Regions from separate parts of the Homo sapiens genome. Here region 2 is linked to region 1. The links are contacts of gene promoters, found by promoter capture Hi-C in human tissues and cell types (Jung and others, 2019). All regions are on one chromosome and are shown on one strand. The core of a region is centred on a gene start or on the middle of the fragment in contact, and the rest is flanking DNA. Distances in the headings are between cores, read along the strand shown. Region 1 holds the start of ZBP1 (Z-DNA binding protein 1). Region 2 overlaps VAPB (VAMP associated protein B and C).

Evidence for each region. The method cuts DNA at HindIII sites, captures the fragments that hold promoters and counts their contacts. A contact is called where the count stands out against the background at its distance.
Region 2: a fragment that was not itself captured here is called in contact with the fragment with the promoter of ZBP1 in region 1 in 1 of the 25 tissues and cell types used here (spleen).

Annotation. Positions count from the first base shown.
Region 1 is chr20:57,618,857-57,622,151 of GRCh38, forward strand. It overlaps ZBP1 (Z-DNA binding protein 1), which reads right to left and starts at 1,570. Exons shown (of 8, transcript NM_030776.3): 1 at 1,406-1,570. The coding sequence starts at 1,439. RefSeq lists enhancers at 160-269, 1,350-1,399, 1,530-1,819. The HindIII fragment of the contact is 12,502 bases long and covers 1-3,295 here.
Region 2 is chr20:58,412,887-58,416,181 of GRCh38, forward strand. All of the region lies in intron 1 of VAPB (VAMP associated protein B and C), which reads left to right. Among named protein-coding and RNA genes, the nearest start is that of VAPB, 25 kb to the left of the region's middle. RefSeq lists enhancers at 211-1,002, 1,003-1,792. The HindIII fragment of the contact is 4,477 bases long and covers 1-3,295 here.

The DNA of each region.
Region 1 (3,295 bases), core at 320-2,819:
AGGCGTGAGCCACTGCGCCTGGCCGCAGTTTTGATTCTGGAAGGCTGACCTTAGGGAGCCACTGCCTCGGCTCCACACACCCCAGAGGAGATGGGGGTCAGAGGTGTGGATGCAGGACAAGCACTGGCCCTGGGCTGGCCTCGACTGCTGAGTCCCAGGCTACTGTGTCTGAAAATGGGAAATTGTAAAATGGAGCAGGTGTAGGCAACAATTTGGTCACAAAAGGAAAATCAACTGGGGAGGAAGACAAGAAAAGCCAGCGAGGGCTGAGTCCGGAACCTGCGTCAGCACCCGTGAGTCCCCGAAGAGGAAGCTCCACAGGACCTCCGCGGTCAGCCCGGCTCCTGGGCCACACCCTGACATTAGCCCTCCCGGGGCACACTCTGTGTTGGTTTTTTAAAATTCTGATGGCTGATTTCCTGGGTTTGAGCTCCTAGCCCTGCCAACTACTAGCTGTGTGACCTCCCCTCCGGCTTCAGGTTCCTCTTCTGTGAAATGGAGACAGTAATAACTACTTCAAAGATTGTGGTGAGGATTAAAAACAAAACAAACACATCCCCCAAACCGCAAAACCACACTTCACCTACAGTCCACAGCGCTTAGTGGAGACCCTAGAGAACAGCAATTACTCGATACACTATTGGCTTTCATTGCAACTCTTCCAGGAATAAAATGAATGAAATGTTAGTTGAGGAAAGGATGCAACAAGGGGGAACAAAGGCACACATGTATCTCATCAAAGCAAACCGCTTTGTTCTCGATATGACTGTGACATGGGTGTTCAGACGCTAACACCAGCGTTCGCCAGCTGTGTTACCCTGAGAGTGTCATTTCACCTCTCAGGGCCTCAGTTATCTATAAAATGGGAATGACATGGCACTTGTCCCTGCAGGCCATCAGGAAATGCTTGGAAAGCATGTTTCGAGGTGCCTGGGGCACAGTCAGCTGTCAAAGGGGGATGGCTATGCTGTCCCTTTCTATTTTTTTTTTTTTTTTCTGAGATGGAATCTCACTCTGTCACCCAGTCTGGAGTGCAATGGCGACATCTCAGCTCACTACAACTTCCACCTCCCGGGTTCAAGCGATTCTCCAGCCTCAGCATCCCGAGTAGCTGGGATCACAGGCATGCGCCACCATGCCCGGTTAATTTTTGTAATTTTAGTAGAGATGGGGTTTCGCCATGTTGGCCAGGCTAGTGTCAAACTCCTGAGCTTAAACAGTCCACCTACCTCGCCTCCCAAAGTGCTGGGATTACAGGCGTGAGCCACCACGCCCAGCTGGTCTACTATTCTTTAGGATACTGCTATTGTCATCATGATCTGGACCAAGCGAAACAGGAGGAAAGAGAAGTAGAAATCTCACCCCGGGAGCTACCGCTGGTCCTTGGAAGGAAGAAGTACTGTACCTTCTCTGCCCGGGTCAGCAGGAGCCTGGGCCATGCTGACAGCAGCTGCAAGGAGTCGGAGAGACTTGGCAGGTGTGCAGGCTTCTGCACTGTGGCCCTGAGAGGGTGGGCTAGGTCGAGGCTGGGGCTTCTGAAGTGGCCGAGCCTGGTGCTTCTTGCAGCTCTGAACCCACAAGGGGAGGGATGCCAGCTTCCACTGGGCAGGTGTCAGCTGCTTACAGCCCGGAAATAGATGCCTAGCCAGGCCGGCCAGATTCGGTTTCAGGAGAAAAAGAAAATGAAACTTCTCTGTTCGTCTTTTGAAAGAAAAAAAAAGTGGAAGCCAGGTGGATGAGCAAGACAGAGTTGGGGACCTGACTTGATGTTGACAGGGAGGAGCTGTAAACTTGGCAAGACCAGAGCGTCCTCCGAAGAGGCCTTTGAGACAGAGGACTTCCCTCACCTTCCCCGTTCCAGGCACAGCCCACCTGGACCTCTACATTTTTATTTTCTGAATCAGCATCAGAGAACTGAAGAAAATAAAAATAAAAAAAAGAGCATGCACCACGTGGAGGGGGATGCCAGGGCGTGGCATCACTCTGATGATGTGAGGGGCTGGGGCTGGTTATCTGGTTTCTGTGTTTTTGTTTGTTTTTGAGACAGGGTTTCTGTCATCCAGGCTGGAGTGCAGTGGCGTGATCACGGCTCACGGCAGCCTCGACCTTCCGGACTCCAGCGATCCTCCCACCTCTCAGCCTCCCTAGTAGCTGGGACCACAGGCCTAGACCACCATGCCCGGCTAATTTTTGTATTTTCTGTAGAGATGGGGTTTCATCGTGTTGCCCAGGCTGGTCTCAAACTCCTGGGCTCAAGCGATCTGCCTGCCTTGGCCTCCCACAGTGCTGGGATTCCAGCCGCAAGCCCCCACGCCCGGCCCCGCTGGTTCCTGTAGTACTTCCTCCTCGGGGACTCACAGGTGCTACAGAGGCACCGTCCCCAGCTCTCAGTGGCTTTTCTTGTCTTCTTCCAGTTTGTTTCCCTTGCCCACACTAGGGGCAGAACATTTAGGTGCGTGAAGGCCCTGAGATTGTTCTTGTGTGTATCCATGTGAGCCTCTTTAATGAACACCTATTATGCGTTTTCCAATCTCAAGTGCTCCTCCAACCCATCTACAGGGTAGGGGCCAGTTCTGTCTTCTTCTCAGGGGGGAAACTGAGGCTAGAAAGGCAAGATCACTTGTCCAAGGCCACACAGAGTCCATGACAGAGCTTGTCCTGTCCATTCCCCAATTGTGTTTCCTGATCTATAACACCCAGAAGTCACTGGTGAATCACCCTTAGTGCACAGATGGCGTGGAGTTCCCCGCCTCATCATAAAACTTGCTTATTAATTCCAGAGTCAGATGCCTGGGGTCAGCAGCCGAGTGGTTCGGAATGCAAGCCTGGGTCAGCATGCTTGGGTCCAAACCTGGCTCCGCCATTTACCGGCTGTGTGACCTCGGACAAATTATTTAACCCCTCTGTGCCTCAGTTTCCCCATGTGTAAAAGGACTTAATCAAAGGACCTAGCGCATGGGGTCGAGGTGAGGACCTAAGGGGCTGATACAGCCCAGCTGTCGGGCTAGAGCCCCAGAGCCATCCGTAGTCACGGGCACCGTGGTCACCTCACAGGAATGCTTCTGGGAGAGGACCCGTTGCTTACATAATTCTCAAAAGGGCCAGTGACCTCAGAAAAACTCAGAGCCACTGTTCTCTTCCAGATCACAGAAGGAGGAACTGAGGCCCACAGAGGTGAATGCTGTGTACAAGGCCCCCCAGCTTTTGGCAGCCAAGGGGGTTGAGAGCTCAGCCCTGGAAGTCCCTGGACTTGGGGTCTGTGTCTCATCTGCAGAGGGCTGGGAGGGCTAGAGAC
Region 2 (3,295 bases), core at 226-2,725, 790 kb after region 1:
GATTTAATGGAATACTTTTCCCATAAAATGCTCTTAGGTTTCCTGACAAGTTTATTCAGCCATTTTTTTATGACATTTTCAACACCTGGAACCTGACCTCTTCATGTTGTGCTGGATTGTGACGGTCTTTGACCTTCAAACCAGAACTTTATACATCTTAAGGCCCAATTTTTGTAATTAAGAGTAAAAAGCAACTATTTCTTCTTTCACTTTTAATGGTATGCAAGTTTTTGCTGGTATTGTATTTGCCTTCTTTTTTTTTTTTTTTTAATTTATTTTTTATTGATAATTCTTGGGTGTTTCTCACAGAGGGGGATTTGGCAGGGTCATAGGACAATAGTGGAGGGAAGGTCAGCAGATAAACAAGTGAACAAAGGTCTCTGGTTTTCCTAGGCAGAGGACCCTGCGGCCTTCCGCAGTGTTTGTGTCCCTGGGTACTTGAGATTAGGGACTGGTGATGACTCTTAACGAGCATGCTGCCTTCAAGCATCTGTTTAACAAAGCACATCTTGCACCGCCCTTAATCCATTTAACCCTGAGTGGACACAGCACATGTTTCAGAGAGCACAGGGTTGGGGGTAAGGTCACCGATCAACAGGATCCCAAGGCAGAAGTTTTCTTAGTACAGAACAAAATGAAAAGTCTCCCATGTCTACTTCTTTCTACACAGACATGGCAACCATCCGATTTCTCAATCTTTTCCCCACCTTTCCCGCCTTTCTATTCCACAAAGCCGCCATTGTCATCCTGGCCCGTTCTCAATGAGCTGTTGGGCACACCTCCCAGACGGGGTGGTGGCCAGGCAGAGGGGCTCCTCACTTCCCAGTAGGGGCGGCCGGGCAGAGGCGCCCGTCACCTCCCGGGTGGGGCCGCTGGCCGGGCGGGGGGCTGACCTCCCCACCTCCCTCCCGGACGGGGCAGCTGGCCGGGCGGGGGGCTGACCCCGCCACCTCCCTCCCAGATAGGGCGGCTGGCCTGGCAGAGGGGCTCCTCACTTCCCAGTAGGGGCGGCCGGGCAGAGGCGCCCCTCACCTCCCGGATGGGGCGGCTGGCCGGGTGGGGGGCTGACCTCCCCACCTCCCTCCCGGACGGGGCAGCTGGCCGGGCGGGGGGCTGACCCCGCCACCTCCCTCCCAGATAGGGCGGCTGGCCTGGCAGAGGGGCTCCTCACTTCCCAGTAGGGGCGGCCAGGCAGAGGCGCCCCTCACCTCCCGGACGGGGCGGCTGGCCGGGCGGGAGGCTGACGCCCCGACCTCCCTCCCGGACGGGGCGGCTGGCCGGGCGGGGGGCTGACCCCCCACCTCCCTCCCTGACGGGGCGGCTGGCCGGGCGGGGGGCTGACCCCCCAACCTCCCTCCTGGACGGGGCGGCTGGCGGGGCGTGGGGCTGACCCCCCCACCTCCCTCCCGGATGGGGCTGCTGGCCTGGCGGGGGGCTGACCCCCCCCACCTCCCTCCCGGACGGGGCGGCCGCCGGGCGGAGACGCCCCCCACCTCCCAGACGGGGTGGCCGCCGGGCGGAGAGGCTCCCCACCCCTCAGACGGGGCAGCCGCCGGGCGGAGGGTCTCCCCACTCCTCAGACGGGGCGGTTGCCGGGCAGAGGGTCTCCTCACCTCTCAGACGGGGCGGTGGGGCAGAGATGCTCCTCACCTCCCAGACGGGGTCGTGGCCGGGCAGAGGCGCTCCTCACATCCCAGACGGGGCGGCGGGGCAGAGGCGCTCCCCACATCTCAGACGATGGGCGGCCGGGCAGAGACGCTCCTCACTTCCTAGATGTGATGGCGGCCGGAAAGAGGCGCTCCTCACCTCCTAGATGGGATGGCGGCCGGTCGGAGACGCTCCTCACCTCCCAGACTGGGCAGCCAGGCAGAGGGGCTCCCCACATCCCAGACGATGGGTGGCCAGGCAGAGACGCTCCCCACTTCCCAGACGGGGTGGCGGCCGGGCAGAGGCTGCAATCTCAGCACTCTGGGAGGCCAAGGCAGGCGGCTGGGAGGTGGAGGTTGTAGCGAGCCGAGATCACGCCACTGCACTCCAGCCTGGGCACCACCGAGCACTGAGTGAACGAGACTCCGCCTGCAATCCCGGCACGTCGGGAGGCCGAGGCCGGCGGATCACTTGCGGTTAGGGGCTGGAGACCGGCCTGGCCAACACAGCGAAACCCCGTCTCCACCAAAACCAGTCAGGCGTGGCGGCGCGAGCCTGCAATCGCAGGCACTCTGTATTTGCCTTGTAAAACAGATCAATTCTAGCCCCTCTTACTGTCTTACTCTTACCTCTTATTGCCTTAAACACAATTTAAAATGACAAAAATCCAAGCACAGTGGGTCCTGGGGGAAGGTAGAGGAAATAAATTATACTGTGTTTAGCTTTATCTAAATACCTTTTACAGCATGTCAAGGAATTCATTTTCAGTTCATTAGTGCTGTTTCATAAGCATCTTCAGCAAACTCACACAAATGTTCACAGATGAGTATATGCATAATCTAGGACATAAAGGGCATTGTTTACATTATTAAAAAGAGTAACAGTTTCAAAGAGTATTGCCAGTTTCTCCCAAATTCATGTTTTTTCACTTTTTTAACCTCCCATTTCACATTTTAGATGCTTAGTTCCTGGTTTTGTTACAGACATTATCTGAAATAAGGAATAGAAGATTAAAAATGATTTGAAGTGTATGCTGTGGTTCTAGAGACACATCATTTTTTTTTATCTCTAAAAAGGAAAAATTCTAAGTTTAGAAGGAGATTTCATTTGTAAAATTGACTGTACTTTATAAGCAGTGTTTAAATTCATTGGTGGTAAATATGCATGTTGGTATAGTAAAATCCCATTTTTTACATAATGCTTTAATGGAAATGGCAGTTTTATGAAATGAAAGTGACTAGTAAAAGTCTGAATGATGCTCATAAGCTTTTACATCATTTTTATTGAAGGTTTTGTGTATGCTAATCCATTAATACAGGGGAAAAGGAGAACACTAACATGGTTTATTTTCTATAATTACTCAAATAGAATATAATTTATTTTCAATAAAATTCTTGGAGCAAATTGCCCAGAGTAGGGAGAGGAAGGTTGGCCTGTTCTTACAAATATCTTGATTTTTACCCACGGGACTTTGTTATTTTACCAGTGATGTTGTTTCATTGCATATATTTTCAGTATAGTTCCCTCCAGATTTTTACAAATAAAAGCCTGTGAAAGGCCAAGAAATCCCAAGCATGTAAAGACCCAGGATTGTGGAGGGAGAAATCTGGGATGTTTATTTTATCCTGTTTATTATTACAAATATTGC